Linked DNA regions of Homo sapiens: all the other regions are linked to region 2. Evidence: promoter capture Hi-C in human tissues and cell types (Jung and others, 2019). All regions are on one chromosome and are shown on one strand. Each heading gives the region's core, a stretch centred on a gene start or on the middle of the fragment in contact. The rest is flanking DNA. Distances are from core to core; before and after follow the strand shown. Region 1 overlaps PHF21B (PHD finger protein 21B). Region 2 holds the start of PRR5-ARHGAP8 (PRR5-ARHGAP8 readthrough). Region 3 overlaps NUP50-DT (NUP50 divergent transcript). Region 4 has its middle 51 kb from the start of NUP50-DT. Region 5 overlaps NUP50 (nucleoporin 50). Region 6 has its middle 71 kb from the start of NUP50-DT.

Region 1 (2,700 bases), core at 160-2,659, 280 kb before region 2:
TGACAAATCTCAGGTCAGGCCCAGGGTGCCGTCCGTTCCTCTTCTGCAGGGCTTGTAGTTGTGTTGGCCACCAGCGGGAAATGCCGAGGTTCTGGAAGGAAATAACAGGAATAGAAAACAGTCCTAATGTGACTTTTCTTGAAAAATAAAGCTTTCCATGAAATAACAGGATAAGCAGTCCTATCACCTTACAAATTAAATTAATAACTTACAGAGCAGGATTGAAATACAAATAAGCATGTATGTCACGCACTTTCATTCTCATGCTGAGCAGGTGTTTAACTCTCAGATGTGCCTCCAGCTACGGCATTGCCAGGCTTTGCACAGGGGCCCTCAGAGCCAGCCCCTTGACTGCACCTGAATCCCCGAGCTCTGTTCACCTGCGGAAGCCTGGTGCCTCCCCATACCTGGGGAATCCACCACTGGGTCCAGGAGTCTGTGTGTAACATGCTTCCCACAAGATTCGGGATCCCCTGAAGTTTGAGAACCAAGGCTCTGGGTAAGGTTAACCTTTTCCCTGGCCACCTGACCAGATGGAAAGATGTGAAGGTCATGCTTCTTCAGCTCTTACTGGCCCTTTTGTGGTGGTGATGATGATGATGATGGTGGTGGTGGTGGTGGTGATGGTGATGATGATGGTGGTGGTAATGAGGGTGGTGATGGTGATGGTGGTGGTGATGATGGTGGTAGTGGTGGTGATGATGGTGGTTGTGATGGTGATGATGGTGGTGATGGTGGTGATGATGATGGTGATCATGATGATGGTGATGGTGGTTATGGTGGTGATGATGGTGATGATGATGGTGATGGTGGTGGTGATGGTGATGATGATGATAGTGATGATGGTGGTGATGATGCCAATGATGATGGCGGTGGCTGTCATGCCTTGCTAACCTCTGGGAAAGATTGAGGACATCGGCATGTCGGAAAGGGGCCCAGCTCCAGTTCCTCAGAGTACATGCCTTGAATACTTGGGCATGGAATCTCCCCAAACTTCCCTTTTCCCACCTGCAAAATGGAAATAATATCTGTATCAGCTATAAAGGCTTATGCAAATATTAGTGGTTTTATTATAATTCAGAGGACTACCCTGGAGTTTAATCCTCTGAGTAAAAAGCAGGAAGTAAAAACTGTAGCAGTTTGTAAACAGTCTGTGATGTTAGATTGTTTCCATTTAACATTTTATGTGATTGGTGTTTAGACATTTCTCTTCATCTGCATTGGTTTTTCTTAGGGTAGATTTTCAAACTTATGTCTTTTAAAATACTTTTAAAAAATACAAAAAGTACAGAAGATGATGTGCTAAGCCTCCCTCGCCTGCCCTTTGGTGTGGTGTTTGCGACGGCCCAGGGCCCAGCTCTTCCAGGCTTGTCTGCTGATGCCCACAGGGACCCCTCCCTGCAGTCTTTGTTCCGGTTTCCTCAGGGCCTTTGCCACTAGTGGGGGTTCATGCTGAAGCCTCTGCCTGAGGTAGTGAGTTCCCCTGGGCCAAGTGGCTAGGGACAGCTGGACCTCCCTAAGAGCCACCAGCGGCAGCAAACATGCCAACATGTCTGCAGGTCAATGGGTGAGAAGCAAGAGGAGCCCAACTCGCTTTCCCGTTTTAGGTCATTCACTAGATTTCCCCCGGTTTTGCCTTTTTTTTTTTTTTTTTTTGAGACAGAGTCTCGCTCTGTCGCCCAGGCTGGAGTGCAGTGGCATGATCTCGGCTCACTGTAACCTCCGCCTCCTGGGTTCAAGCAATTCTCCTGCTTCAGCTTCCTGAGTAGCTGGGATTACAGGCGCCTGCCACCATGCCCGGCTAATTTTTGAATTTTTAGTGGAGACAGGGTTGGTCCGGCTGGTCTCAAACTCCTAACCTGAAGTGATTCTCCCACCTCGGTCTCCCAAAGTGCTGGGATTACAGGCATGAGCCACCGCGCCCGGCCCCTTGCATACATCTTGGTCCAAATCAGATTCTGTCTTGGGGAGCATCATTTCATAATCTCTGCTGGCTTTGAACTTGTCACAGTTCAGACGTCTTCCTTCTTCTGGCTCCTCCTGGTAGCCCCAGGTGCCTCCTTCCTGACAGAGCCTGCTGCTCCCGTAATACACACTCACCCCTAATGAGCTACTTAAAAATAATCAATGATTTCCAGATAAAAATCACCATTAATTTTAAATGCCCTCTGTAAACCTTGTTACAAATAATTGCCAGAAACACACAAAGTCTGAAATTAATTAAAATCGACAGCCTCATTTGACGGGAGTTGAGCTTCTGGCTTCTTGGTTATGTGCGTCTCTTGCTTGGGCAGAAGCAGTGGCTGCGAGATGTGAGCCCATGGGGGAGTTTGCTTAGGACCCGCCGAGCACTTGGGCCTGTGGAGGAGTGGGGAGGACACGGGCTTAGAGTCCTGCAGACTTGGCTGGCTGGCCTGTGCCCTCTTAGGGTAATCGGATGACTTTCCGAGCCCCAGGTTTCTCATCTGTGGAAGGGTTTGGTAGTGCCAGCTCCCCAGGGTTGCACGTAGGTGATGGCAAGGGTGTGCCTGCCCCAAGTGGATGCTCAGTCATGATCTTGTCGTCTTTCCTCTTCTCTCTCCCTGCCCCAGATCAGCCTTTGCAAAGTACTCATACTGGGTCATTCACTCACTCATTCACTCCTGCAGTGAGATACACAGAAGCTGATAGGCAGCAGAGGCGGCAGGGACACCGGGTTCC
Region 2 (2,700 bases), core at 99-2,598:
GAGACCACGTTTGAAGAGGGTCTCGCTGGCAGCCCTGAGCCCACCATGACGCTCACAATGCATTCAATGAACTGAAAATAACGTGTGTCCAAGTGACAGCCGGGTTCCCGGTGGCCAAGACCACAGCCGGTGGAGCATCTGGCAAGATTTTACTGCCAGGTGTGGGCGCGAGAGGGGCAACGTCCACAGCCTCCCCCGAACAGTGTCCACAGCCTCCCCCGAACAGTGTCCACTGCCTCCCGCGAACAGCCTGCCTCACTTTCTCCTGCCTCTCATTTTCCTAGGGAGCAGAGACGCTGGGGAGTTCCACTAAATAAACCGTCTCTTTTCCAGATCCCGGACTTGCTCCTCAAACAAAGCTGGGAGAAGGGGCTTCCCAGGCCCCTGCTTGTCTGGGAATGACCCCTGGAGGAGAGTCCTCTAAAGAATGCCTCGCAGCTGCCGCACCCCCTGCTGACAGCTGGAGGACAGGGGGCCTCTCAAGGGAAAGCCGAAGGGAGCTTAAAGAGACACAGGAAGCCTGCGCGACCCACCCACTGAGCCCCGAGGCTCCCGTGCTCAGCCGCAAAATGGGAAAAATACTTCCTGCTCCGTTAGCCTCCCAGGTTGTCACGAGCACCGCAGTGGAGACGTGGAAAGACCCCGGGTAGGAGGCGGGCACGCGGCTTCCCGGCCCACCCCGCCGCCCACCCGCCGGGCGCTTCTGGGCCAGCCCCGGGCGCTGGCGGGCCTCGCTCCCTTCCCTGGGTTCTGGAACCACGCTGCACTGAACTTTCCTCCAGGCCCGCACCACTCCGGCGGGGCAAGTTCTTTGCAAACTGTGAAGCGCCGCGCCGCCTTCGGCAGCGTTCCTGGCTCGGGGCGGCCCCTAGCCCGCGGACGGCTCAGGGGTCCCCTCCCCCGGCTCCAGGGCCTCCGGGTGGCCGGGAGGGCGCGGCCTTACCTGTTCCAGGTGGCGTTGGCGCAGGCCCGGCGCTGCTGCGTGCCCCGCTCGTCCGCGGCGGCGGCCGGCTCTCTCTTGCCCAGGTCACTGAGGCTGGGCGAACTCATGAACTTCAACCTGCGGAGAGTCCTCATGGTGACCCGGGCCGCCTGCGCCGCGCCCACGCGCGCCCCACGCCGCGCCCTGCGCCACGCCGCACCAAGGGCCCCGGGCCGGCGATGCGCCCTCTACGCGGAAACTCCGGCGAGAGCAGGAAGCCGAGCGGTCCTGCGGGGTCCCGCCCCGGCCCCGCGCCTCCGTCTCGGGTCCCGCGCCGGCCGCCCCGCCGGGTTAATCATTGCACGGAGAGGCTCAGCGTGGAGCGCCAGGCGCGCGGCCAGCACAGACCCGGCGCAAACGGAGGCCGGGGGCGGACCCGGGGGCGGGCCCAGGGGCGGGTCTCGGCGCCCCGGGGGGCGGGGCGGGGAAGGGGGCGGGGGCATCGCGGGCGGGGCGGGGCCTCAGGCGAGGGGGCGTGTGCAAGAGGCGGAGCCGGCGTCTCCGCGGCCGCAGCTGCCACGACGCCTCGCTGGGTCTGCCCTCTGAGGACGTGCTCACCCTCCTCCCCTCTTCCGAGGGCCCCACGTGCCCACAGGAAACCAACACGCACAGGACGCAGGGCCCAAGCCCAAGCGCCCGCCCCCCGCCCAGCACTGCGGTCGCGCCCACACGATGTCCTTCGACCCCGGCCCCGGAGGTCTCCCTCCACAGCCCTCCTCGCAAAGGCTGTGCCACAGAGGTGCCTCCGTACCCCTCACCTGAACACAGGCTCCCCCACCCAGTTCTCATGAGGACTTTGGGTAGAGGCCTTCAGTCCCCTCCAGGCACCTTGGCCCAAGAACCCACTCCACCCGGGCTCAGCCTAGACCCCCTTGGACAGGGACTTCAGCATTGCCTGGCTGCCTGGAGGATTTGCTGGAGTGAGGGCTTGAAGAAGTAGAGGGTTTGCTCCTTATCTCCCACCCCCAGGTCTCTTGGATGGTAAAACCAAGCAGTTTCCCAAGTCCCTGTGGTGGGGGCAGAGTGATCCCAGTGAAGGCAGGGCACAGCCGGTGCTTCCTGCCTGCTTCGCAGAGCACTTTTAGATGTCTGATTTCACATGAACTAACATGAACTACTTCCGTGAGGTAGAGATTATTCTTCTCCCCATTTTCCAGTTGAGGACATTGAGGCTCACAGAGTGAAATAACTTGCCCAACATTGTGCCAACATTGTGCAATCAACAAATGGTAGAGTTGGGCTTCACCACAGGGAGCGTCCAGCCCCTTGAACAGGGCCCTTCCCAGTCCCCAGCTTCTGGGATTCCCACAAGGCTCACCTGACCCCTCCATCAGATGGGGGGTGACAGCCACAGCTCCAGGAGCTGGGAGGGCCCCATATAAAATGTAAGAGAGAGGTGATGGCTCATGCCTGTAATCCCAGCACTTTGGGAGGCCGAGGTGGGAGGATCACCTGAGGTCAGGAGTTCAAGACCAGCCCGGCCAACATGGAGAAACCCCATCTCTATTAAAAATACAAAATTAGCTGGGCGTGGTGGTGCATGCCCGTAATCCCAGCTACTCAGGAGGCTGAGACAGGAGAATCGCTTGAACCTGGGAGGCAGAGGTTGCAGAGAGCTGAGATCTCGCCACTGCACTCCAGCCTGGGCAACAACAGCAAAACTCCGTCTCAAAAATCATCATCATCATAATAAAATAAAATAAAAAGTAAGAGAGCCT
Region 3 (2,700 bases), core at 201-2,700, 430 kb before region 2:
GAACAAACTGAACAAGCTTTTCTTTTGGGTTCTACCAATATTTAGTCACCACAGGGGGTGCATTCCCACTGAGCATTTAAAACTCCAACCTATGCCTTACCCTATTTCCTTAATGCATTTGGTACTGTTTTCTCATGTATAACATGAGAGAAATGTTGCCTACTCAAAGGTTTGTTGTTAGATTAGGTGGCTTGGAGGGTATGAAAGTATTTGATTAACTGTAAAGCAAAGTACAGATGTAAACTATGGTTGTTATTGTGGCAGGTTGCAATTAATAGTTGGACACTAAAATCTGGTCTCCCCTTCTTCCACAGGAACAGAATTGCCATTGGGCCCAGGGAGAGACTACACTTCTTGTCTGCTTTGTTGCTAGTGCGGCCTTGTGGCCAAGCACAGAACGTGTGCAGTGATGATGGTGCAACTTCTAGGTCGTCCCCAGCATGGAAAATGAGCCCTGGGCATGGAAGATGAGCCCTGGTCCTGCAGCGGTGCTCTTTCCTCTTCTCACAAGCTGGAATGTGCATGTGCTCCCACCCAGCTTTGACCATGGGGCGAAAACAGTACTCTGCAGTCTGGCAGAGCAACAAGGTGGAAAGGGCCTGGGTCCTTGAGTGACGTCATGAGCCCTCTCACTGTCCCGACTTTGGGACTGTTATATGATAAGGACTTTCTGTGAGTCACTGTCTTTTAGAGTCTCTCTGTTTTAGCTGCCTGGACTTTATCCTGAATAATATGGCTGTTATCATGGGTATAGTGTTACTATGAGCCTCATCTAAGTAATTTCTACTCTGCCTTTGACCACTAAACTCATGTTGGACAAGAGTCACTTAGCATTATTTTTTCCTCAATGAAGAGGTTAAGATGGAGGGAGCAGGAGAAATTGAGGCCTGTGTTTTACCAGAAGGTGAAGGGCTGTCTTTGCCTTTCCTACATTTATGAAGGATAATTCTAGACAAAAACATTAAGTTCATATCAAACCATCTGCTTTGTGAAGCCATGGGCTTTGCTAGAACTTTCTGTGACATGACATTTATTAACCCGAGTCTACCTGGAAGTTAGAGCTGAGGAAGTTTTCCTAGAGTGGAAAAAGTCCAATGCACTTGTAAAAGTCAGACCAAGCTCAGCTCAGATTTCAGTTTTATTAGAAGTATGTCACCTTCCTGAGCCCTTATTATTTCCCCATCTGTGAAATGAGGACACCGTTCTCTCTTTCTAAGCATTGCTGGGAAGACCACACACCACTGAGACAGAAGGTGGGGCTAGCGCAGTTCTGGGCATTTTGTACACCCCCAACAAATACTGATTTATTTCCTTCTTTTTCCTTGCTCAGAAAAAATTGGAGAAGGCTTTATTTTAAAATTCTGCCTGAATTACTTTATTTTATTTATTTATTTATTTATTTTTTGGAGACAGAGTGTTGCTGTGTCACCCAGGCTGGAGTGCAGTGGTGCGATCTCAGCTCACTGCAACCTCCTCCTGCTGGGTTCAAACGATTCTCCTGCCTCAGCCTCCTGAGTAGCTGGGATTATGGGCGCCCACCACCATGCCCAGCTAATTTCTGTATTTTTAGTAGAGACGGGGTTTTGCCACATTGGCCAGGCTGGTCTCGAACTCCTGATCTCACGTGATCTGCCCACCTCAGCCTCCCAAATTGCTGGGATTACAGGCATGAGCCACCATGCCCAGCCCTTGAATTACTTTAGATCCTACTTTTTAAGAAAATATTTGGCCGGGCATGGTGGCACACACCTGTAATCGCAGCACTTTGGGGGCCTGAGTTGGGTGGATCACTTGAGTCTAAGAGTTCGAGACCAGCCTGGCCAACATGGCGAAACCCTATCTCTACTAAAAATACAAAAATTAGCCGGGCATGGTGGTGGGCACCTGTAATCCCAGCTACTTGGGAGGCTGAGGCAGGGAGAATCACTTGAACCTGGGGGGGCAGAGGTTGCAGTGAGCCAAGATAGTGCCACTGTACTACCGCCTGGGCGACAGAGCAAGACTTTGTCTCAAAAAAAAAAAAAAAAGAAAATATTTGACTTTCTTTTTAAAATGTATATGGTTTACAAATAAAGTTTACAAATGCTTTTACACTCCTTGTAGGCCACATTACTTTTCTGATCCCGAGGGGTGTGTATTTGTAGTTAACTCATTATGAAAGAGAAGATGCTAAAAGACAGCAGTCCTTAGGGTATGAAAGCAATACTGGCATTGATGAGCGAGGAGGCAAGAAAAATGGGAGGCACTAGGTAATTCTGACAATCTCAAGGCAAATGAAAGCTAGCTTGGAAAAGCCACCGTGAATTTTGAGTGAGATGGTGAAGCTTTAAGGCCCAGGAGGTCTGCCAAAATGAGGGTGTTATGATGGCATCCTAAAGTCGCCGTGTCTGAAGCCATAGGCAGGTCATTTCCAGGGCCACGCAGGATCCGGAAGATTCCAGGTGGTGGGTAGATACTTGGTGCTCCCCTCTCTGCTTCTCCTTCTTCCCTCTGGCCTCCTTTGTCCCTTTTCACTCAGCCTGCTTCCCCCGAGTCTGCCACTCTCTCAGACACATACACATATGCTCATTTGTATTCAAAGCCAGGTTCAGGCCAGGAGCAGTAGCTCACATCTGTAATCCCAGCACTTTGGGAGGCCGAGGTGGTTGGATCACTTGAGGCCAGGAGTTCAAGACCAGCCTGGCCAACATGGTGAAACCC
Region 4 (2,700 bases), core at 89-2,588, 410 kb before region 2:
CATTGGACTCCAACCTGGGCAACAAGAGCAAAACTTTGTCTAAAAAATAAAAAATAAAAAGAAATGTAACTGTGAGTTTTTCACATATGATCAGGTTGAGGAAGTTTCCTTCTATTCCTCACTTGCTGCATGTTTTTATGAAAGGGTTCTGGATTTTGTCAAATGCCTTTTTTGTATCTCCTGAGATGACCATGTGATTTTTGTTCTTTATTCTATCTATATGGTACATCATATTAATTTTTGGATGTTAAATCAAACTTGCATTCTTGAGATAAGAATCTCATTTGATTTCTGGGATAAATCCCCATTTGGTCATGGCATATAATCCTCTTTATATGTTTCTGGATTTAATTCGCTAATATTTGATTGAGGAGTTTTATGGTACATTCAAAAGAGATATTGGTCTTTAGTTTTCTCTTTCTTTCTTTCTTTCTTTCTTTCTTTCTTTCTTTCTTTCTTTCTTTCTTTCCTTCCTTCTTTCTTTCTTTCTTCTTTTTTTGAGACGGAGTCATCCAGGCTGGAATGTAGTGGTGCGATCTTGGCTCACTGCAATCTCTGCCTCCTGGGTTAAAGCGATTCTCCTGCCTCAGCCTCCTGAGTAGCTGGGACTACAGGAATGTGCCACCACGCCTGGCTAATTTTTGTATTTTTAGTAGAGATGGAGTTTCACCATGTTGGTCAGGCTGGTCTCGAACTCCTGACCTCAGGTGATCCTCTGACCTTGGCCTCCCAAAGTGCTGGGATTACAGGCATTAGCCACTGTGCCCGTCCTAGTTTTCTTTTCTTGTGATGTCTTTGTGTGATTTTGGTAGCAGAGTGACATTGCCTTCATGGAATGAATTGGCAGCCCTGTCCAGACACCATATTTAAGTCTATTAAGTGTAAGCATACAATTCAGTGGCATCAAATAAATTCTCCATGTTGTGTCACTCTCAATACTATCCACTCCCAGAACTTTTTCATTATCTCAGAGAGAAACTCTGTACCCATTAAACAACTCCCCAACCCCCTCTCCTCAGCCCTGACACCTCTATTAGACTTTTTGTCTCTATGAATTTGCCTGTTATTGATACTTTATCTGTGGAATCATACAGTATTTGTTCTTTTGTACCTGGCTTATTTCTCTGCACTCTTTTATGTTTTTCCAGGCCTGAAGGGTTTCATTTGAAAGTTACAATTTCAAATGAGGTGACCTCAACAGGGAGAGACAGGGTGGAGTGAACCACCGGAGAAACAGAGCCGAGGGAGGAGATCGGAGGATCTGAAGGAAAATATGAATTCCCTACGCCTTCAGAGTTGCAGGGAGAGGCCTTCCACAGCAGGGCTCTTCAAAGAGTCCATGAGAGTGCCCCAGAAGAGAATCACCTTTGAACATTTGCCAGAACTGGAGTGTAGCTGTTACTTATTGCCATCATAGGGGTGTGTAACAAACATCCCCAAAACTTATTGGCTCCAAACCATGACAAAGTCTGTGGTAATTGACTTGTCCGCTGGACTTTTTTGGTCTAGACTGGACTGGGCTGGGCTTTTTCATGTGTTTTTTTGTCAGCTGGCAAGTTGTCTGGGACAGGGCTGGTCTAGGCTGGCCTTGGCTGGAGTGACTTGGCCTGGCTCCATGTGGTGTCTCATCCTCCAGCAGGCTAGCCTGGTATTCACGTGGAGATCATGACAGTCAGCACAAGTATGCAAGATCTCTTGAGGCCTGGGCTTGGAACTGGAAGGCCACCATTTCCACAGCATTCTATCAGCTGAAGCAAGTCACAATGCCAGCCCAGATTTAACGGGTAGGAAAATCAACTCTGCCTCTTTAGTGAGAACAATTGCAAGGTCACATGAAAAGGGCACAGATTCAGGAAGGAGTGAAGAATTATAGCCATTTTTTTTTTTTGGTAATTTATGGCCTGGACAGTGTGAAACTAGTTTTTGATGCTTCCAATTTAGGTCCTTTTCTATCTCCTTACCACTTTTTACTGCCTACCTTCCTACTTCAGGGGCCAAAAACTGGCTGGGAAGCTGGGTGATGGGCTTGGATGCAGGAGAGAGAGTAGTACAAGATAAGAGAAATGGAGAGGAGGAGAACTGCCCACTTCCCCTGTAGAAGCAGACTCTTCTAATGTGAGAAGGTCTCACATTAGATCAAATCTGGAGACTTGATTGATATCTTGGGCTTGAGTTTCTGAATCAAGACTGTATTTGGGCCAGGCATGGTGGATTATATCTGTAATCCCAACACTTTGGGAGACAGAGATGGGTGGATCACTTGAAGCCAGGAATTTGAGACCACTCTGGGCAACATGGCAAGACCCTGTCTCTACAAAAAATTTAAAAACTAGCTGAGCATGGTGGCATGCACCTGTAATCCCAGCTTCTAGAGAGGCTGAAGTGGGAGGATTGCTTGAGCCCAGGAGTTCAAGGGTGCAGTGAGCTATGATTGTGCCATTGCACTTCATTCTGAGCAACAGAGTGAAAAAGCGAGACAATGTCTCTAAAAATAATAATTTTTTAAAGAGATTGTGTTTGGTAATTAGAGCAACTGCTTATTACCTGAGAGTACATAGGAAAGTCGAGGGCCTGCCAGAGTTTTCATCCTGGCCAGAGGAGGGCTGCTCCCTCCGAACAGATTTCATATGCAGAGCAGGAGGTAAAAGAGCTGTATTTGGCCAGGTGTGGTGGCTCACGCCTGTAATCCCAGCACTTTGG
Region 5 (2,700 bases), core at 151-2,650, 470 kb before region 2:
GTATAGTGAAAGGGCTCCCCCTACCAAGGCCTCAATCGCAGGGAGCAGACAAGACTCTCAGAAGATCCTTGCGTTTTCCTTTCTTCCTCCAATCTGATGCCACTTCGCCCACCTCTGTATTGCTTTGCTCATTTTTCTTCTCCAGATTGTCACTCAACTTGAATTTGTCTATATTTATCTTATTTCCTCAACTGGATAAGCTCTCTTTAAGGTCCAGACCTGACGTTTCTTATTTTTTTCTATCTCCCATGACCTACATCAAAGAATAAGTATTTTAAGAAAGCATTTGTTGATATCATTGCTCCCAGCGGAGGGATTGCTGTGCAACCCAGAAATCAAATGAGTATTTAATAGCAAGAGCTGTAAGGGGGCACTCACTTCAAATCCAACATTTCTGCGCTTTGCTTTCTTTATGGCTCTATTCTTCAAGACTTCCTCACTGGCCATGGAGAATGTTCCCACCTGCAATACAATACAAATTAAGCAGCAGTAAGATAAAGCCAAACAGATGACAAAATCCTCAACAACAACAACAAGCTAGAACTGAGCCACTGTGTCCGGCCTCTCAAAAATAAATTTTGGCCAGGCACAATGGCTTGCGCCTATAATACTAGCGCTTTGGGAGGCCAAAGGTCAGGAGTTTGAGACCAGTCTGGCCAACATGGTGAAACTCTGTCGCTACTAAAAATGAAAAATTAGCTGGGCATGGTGGTGGGCACCTGTAATCCCAGCCACCTGGGAGGCTGAGGCAGGAGAATCACTTGAACCCTCCGGGAGGTGGAGGTTGCAGTGAGCCGAGATAGCACCACTGCACTCCAGCCTGGGCAACAGAGCAAGACTGTCTCAAAAAAATAAATAAATAAATTTTGTTATTTATAACATACACATGATTTTTAAGATGAGTCCTGCCCAACTTGCCCACTGTACGAAAGGCCACGGAGGCACCTAGGACCTTGCTGGACAACCACTGCTCTTCCACAGTGCGCTCAAAGCACACTCATGTCCACACTTCTGATGTCCACGTCAGAAAGCTGCTGAATATCTTCGGCTTTAGTTTATAGCCCTTCTTTTACCCTGTAGGGTCGGAATAAAATATTTCTCATGCAAAAATTCTCACCTATAGTTGTTTCAGATCATATTAAACTTAACGGGCTCCTACACTCATAGAGGGGACCATCTGGCTGCACTTGCCCCAAGTTAAATGTACTTAACTAAATGTAATCTTTCCACACATTTCATTGGCATATGTTCGAATGGGAGTTCTTTCATTCCTGAATATTTTAATGTCTAAGCAAATAGTTACATGGTAATCTAGATGTTACTATAGCCCAGAATGTAACTGTGCTTAAGATCTTAAACCAACAACAACAAAAAACCAAAAACCCCCATAACCAAAGATTTTAGTTAAAAAGCACCAAATCAGTTTTGACCCTGTCAAAACACTCACATCCTTGGGATTCTGGTTTCCCTAAACATATGTGAGGAGATACACTTGTAGAGAAAAAAAGTACTAGTACCAGAAAGATTCCAAAAGAAGGAAGATGGCCGTCTAAGAATAAGCTTGGAAACAGTTGCAGTTTTAACATTTTTCTTTTTTCACTTAGCACTATGCTGTTAACCTGAAAGTCGTGGTTACAGATTTCCTTAGTCATCTGGCCTGGGGGTAACACACTGCTGATAAGGTACGACTGTAGAGTCCAGCCCTACTGGGCTTTGCGGGTGTTCTCCTCGAAGGGGGAAACAGAGATTGTAAGAAATAAAGACACAAGACAAAGAGATAAAGAGAAAACAGCTGGGCCTGGGGGACTACTACCACCAAGACACGGAGACCGGCAGTGGCCCTGAATGGCTGGGCGTGCTGATATTTATTGCATACAAGACAAGGGAGCAGGGTGAGGAGGATGAGTCGTCCAGGGGATTGACAAGGTCAAGCAAGTCACGTGATCATGGGACAGGGGCCCTTCCCTTTTAGGTAGCTGAAGCAGAGAAGGAAGGCGGCGTACGTCAGCATTTTCTTCTATGCACTTATCAGAAAGATCAAAGACTTTAAAACTTTCACTATTTCTTCTACTGCTATCTACTAAGAACTTCAAAGAGGAACCAGGACTACGGGAGGAGCATGAATGTGGACAAGGAGTGTGACCACTGAAGCACAGCACCACAGGGAGGGGTTCAAGCCTCTGGATGACTACTGGCAAGCCTGGACAATATCCAATCTCCCACAAGAAGGTGGTGGAGCAGAGTGTTCCCTGACTCCTCCAAGTAAAGGAGACTCCCTTTCACGGTCTACTAAGTAACAGGTGCCTTCCCAGGCACTGGCGTTACCACTTGACCAAGGAGCCCTCAAGCGGCCCTTATGCGGGCGTGACAGAGGGCTGGCTCACCTCTTGCCTTCTAGGTCACTTCTCACAATGTCCCTTCAGCACCTGACCCTGTATCTGCCGGTTATTCCTTGGTTATATTAGTAGTACAACAAAGAGTAATATTAAAAGCTAATGACTAGTAATGTTTATACTAATGATTGATAATGCCCGTGATCATCTCTGTATCTAATTTGTATTATGACTATTCTTATTCTAACTATTTTATGTATTATACTGAAACAGTTTGTGCCTTCAGTCTCTTGCCTCGGCACCTGGGTAATCCTTCGCCCACATCCTATAAGTACAGCTGTGTTTTATTCTTTGTTTTTTAGACAGG
Region 6 (2,700 bases), core at 63-2,562, 390 kb before region 2:
GGTTGGGGAAGCAAAGGTTGACAGCCACGTTGGTCACCTCCGGCTGCCCTAACAAAGCAGCATGGACTGCGTGGCTGAAACCACACACACTCATTTCTCACAAGCTCAGGGTGTGGCATGGCAGGGCTCTGGGAGGCCTCCCTTGCTGGTCTGCAGACACCGCCTTCTCACTGCGTCCTCACACGGCAGAGAGAGAGGGTGCGGGCTCCATGGTGTCTTTCTCTTGTAAGTAAAACCGTGCCCCCAAGAGTCAAAGATACAGACGGCCAGCAGAAATTCTTGAGTTTGCAGGGTGGCAGATGAGAAAGGAAACAGCTGGCTGGAATACTGAAGCTTCCTCTGCCCATGAGATGAAAGAATGGGCTGAAGTCAGTCGCAGCCCCGGGGACCGGCTGGAGTCCGTGCAGAACCCGCCTGCCAACGTCGCAGCCTGAATCGCCCCCTGAATTTGCACATGTGACACACGAGGTAGCATGAAGAGGTGACTGCACATGCCTAAGGACTTTCCAGACCTCCACTTTCTTCCGCCAATCACCTACAGATCCCAGAATCCACCCCTTGGACCTTTCCTAATAAAAATACTGCCTTGAGGCCAGGCACAGTGGTCCAGGCCTGTAATACCAGCATTTTGGGAGGCCGTAGTGGGCAGATCACTTGAGGAGTCCGAGACTAGCCTGGCCAACATGGTGAAACCCTGTCTCTACTAAAAATACAAAAATTAGCCAGGTATGGTGGCGGGTGCCTGTAATCCCAGCTAGTCTCGAGGCTGAGGGAGGAGAATCGCTTGAACCTGGGAGGCGGAGGTTGCAGTGAGCCGAGATCGTGCCACTGTACTCCAGCCTGAGCAACAAGAGTGAAACTCTGTCTCAAAAAAAAAAAAACAAAAAAAAGTAAATAAATAAAAAACACTGCCTTGAAGTATTCCAGCACCGGGAGACAGACTTGAGCTTGTCTCCTGTCTCCTTGGGAGCTGAGTTTCAATACAAAGGTTTTATTTTCTCAAAAACTCAGCATCATAAGATTGGCTTCTAGCACATCGGGCAGCAACCCCGTTTTGCCCTACAGCACAAGGACACTAACCCTGCTGTGTCAGGGCCCCACCCTTATAACCTAATTTAACCTTAATGTCTTCCTTAGAGGCCCTATCTCCAAATACAGTCACCCTGAGGGTTAGGGCTTGAACATGGATTTTAAGGGGACACAATTCAGTCCACATCAATACCTCACATGGGGGGAAGCCAGGCCCTCTGTCCTAAAACCCACCCGTCTCCCCAGGCTTGAGAACTGCTTTCCAGCCTATAAGAGAACAACCCCTTCTCCTCATAGAGCGAGGAGCCCTCCAGAGATTCTGCTGCCCCTCTGCTTCTAGAAAGACCCTTCTCCTCATAGAGCGAGGAGCCCTCCAGAGATTCTGCTGCCCCTCTGCTTCTAGAAAGACCCTTCTCCCCACTCCACCTTCCCATGTATCAGGCCCAGCCGCACACCCATCCGCTGTGAGTATGTTCTTGCTTTGTAAAAACTGTGCTGACACCAAACTCATCAAATTGTATATATTAAATATATGCCGTGTTTTGTATATCAAGTATACCTTAAAGCCATATTTATTTATTTATTGAGATGGAGTTTCACTCTTGTTGCCCAGGCTGGAGTGCAGCGGTGCAATCTCGGCTCACTGCAACATTTGCCTCCCGGATTCAAGTGATTCTCTTGCCTCAGCTTCCCGAGCGCCTTTCTTACAGGTGCCCGCCACCGCGCCCAGCTAATTTTTTTTTGTATTTTTAGTAGAGATGGGGTTTCACCATGTTGGCCAGGCTGGTCTCGACCTCCCAACCACAGGTGATCCGCCCGCCTCGGCCTCCCTAAGTGCTGGGATTACAGGCATAAGCCACCGCGCCCGCCTCTTCTGGGCCTATGTAAATTGAACACATTTATGAGGCCCTGCTCTGTGCCCAGACACTGTGCTAAGCTTTGAGGATCCACGATGACCACCTGGAGGAAGCCGCCGGTTCCCCTCTCCCAGGGATGTTTTCCATCTGCCTTCACCCGGCTCGTGCCCCGCTTGCTGTGGCTCTCGCTGTGTTGCGTTGTCTGCTACAGACCTTTCCTTCTACACTGTGTTACCTACGCGTTATCAACATCTGAGTGTCCTGTGATCTGAGTGACACCGATCCCAGTGCCTGGTCCGTGGCAGGCATTTATCTGTTGACTGAAGGAGAAACAAGAAAGTAAGGAAGCAGCCCCGGAGCTGGAGGGATCCGCAGGGCCCCCGAGGCCAGTTGTCTTGCTGCTGAGAAGCAGAGGAGTTCCAGAGCTTAGCGACTTCTCCCAGGTCGTCAGCGAGCGAGCGGCAGAGGCAGGACAAGAACCCGGAGCGCCCCACTTTACAGGGCACCTGCTCTCTCGACCTGTCTCTGGGTGGGGCTTTCTTGCCACGAACTTGCCCCTCCCCGACTCAGACTTTGTGCCTGGCCCTGACCCTTTCCCTCCTGGCCTCCGCACGCCGTGAGCGTGTCCCATCAGCGTGTCGAGTGAATCCGCGTAGACGCCCACCTCCCTGCCTGAGCTCTGCAGGTCCACCCTCTGTGTGGGACGGTGCCGCGTGCAGGTGCACACTTGAGGGAACCAGGTGGTTCAGGGTCCACAGAAACCACCTGCAGCCGGTAAGCTGCGATTTTAAAACACGTGTAAAGGAAATAATCC

What was found. Contacts are between HindIII fragments. The study calls those that stand out against the background at their distance.
Region 1: a fragment that was not itself captured here is called in contact with the fragment with the promoter of PRR5-ARHGAP8 in region 2 in 2 of the 25 tissues and cell types used here (adrenal gland and lymphoblastoid cells).
Region 3: a fragment that was not itself captured here is called in contact with the fragment with the promoter of PRR5-ARHGAP8 in region 2 in 4 of the 25 tissues and cell types used here (IMR-90 fibroblasts, dorsolateral prefrontal cortex, lymphoblastoid cells and 1 more).
Region 4: a fragment that was not itself captured here is called in contact with the fragment with the promoter of PRR5-ARHGAP8 in region 2 in 1 of the 25 tissues and cell types used here (dorsolateral prefrontal cortex).
Region 5: a fragment that was not itself captured here is called in contact with the fragment with the promoter of PRR5-ARHGAP8 in region 2 in 1 of the 25 tissues and cell types used here (ovary).
Region 6: a fragment that was not itself captured here is called in contact with the fragment with the promoter of PRR5-ARHGAP8 in region 2 in 3 of the 25 tissues and cell types used here (dorsolateral prefrontal cortex, mesenchymal stem cells and mesendoderm cells).

Annotation. Positions count from the first base shown.
Region 1 is chr22:44,982,190-44,984,889 of GRCh38, reverse strand. The region is part of intron 2 of PHF21B (PHD finger protein 21B); the gene reads left to right. Among named protein-coding and RNA genes, the nearest start is that of PHF21B, 26 kb to the left of the region's middle. RefSeq lists an enhancer at 2,167-2,700. The HindIII fragment of the contact is 5,297 bases long and covers 1-2,700 here.
Region 2 is chr22:44,700,852-44,703,551 of GRCh38, reverse strand. It overlaps PRR5-ARHGAP8 (PRR5-ARHGAP8 readthrough), which reads right to left and starts at 1,348. Exons shown (of 15, transcript NM_181334.6): 1 at 944-1,348. The coding sequence starts at 1,077. It overlaps PRR5 (proline rich 5), which reads right to left and starts at 1,348. Exons shown (of 8, transcript NM_181333.4): 1 at 944-1,348. The coding sequence starts at 1,077. RefSeq lists a silencer at 1,065-1,474. The HindIII fragment of the contact is 17,168 bases long and covers 1-2,700 here.
Region 3 is chr22:45,132,412-45,135,111 of GRCh38, reverse strand. NUP50-DT (NUP50 divergent transcript) reads left to right here. Exons shown (of 3, transcript NR_038956.1): 3 at 315-1,354. Among named protein-coding and RNA genes, the nearest start is that of NUP50-DT, 30 kb to the left of the region's middle. The HindIII fragment of the contact is 4,653 bases long and covers 1-2,700 here.
Region 4 is chr22:45,111,430-45,114,129 of GRCh38, reverse strand. No RefSeq gene overlaps it. Among named protein-coding and RNA genes, the nearest start is that of NUP50-DT, 51 kb to the left of the region's middle. The HindIII fragment of the contact is 8,481 bases long and covers 1-2,700 here.
Region 5 is chr22:45,169,362-45,172,061 of GRCh38, reverse strand. It overlaps NUP50 (nucleoporin 50), which reads right to left. Exons shown (of 8, transcript NM_007172.4): 3 at 379-462. Among named protein-coding and RNA genes, the nearest start is that of NUP50, 6.8 kb to the right of the region's middle. The HindIII fragment of the contact is 3,699 bases long and covers 1-2,700 here.
Region 6 is chr22:45,091,227-45,093,926 of GRCh38, reverse strand. No RefSeq gene overlaps it. Among named protein-coding and RNA genes, the nearest start is that of NUP50-DT, 71 kb to the left of the region's middle. RefSeq lists an enhancer at 1-169. The HindIII fragment of the contact is 3,268 bases long and covers 1-2,700 here.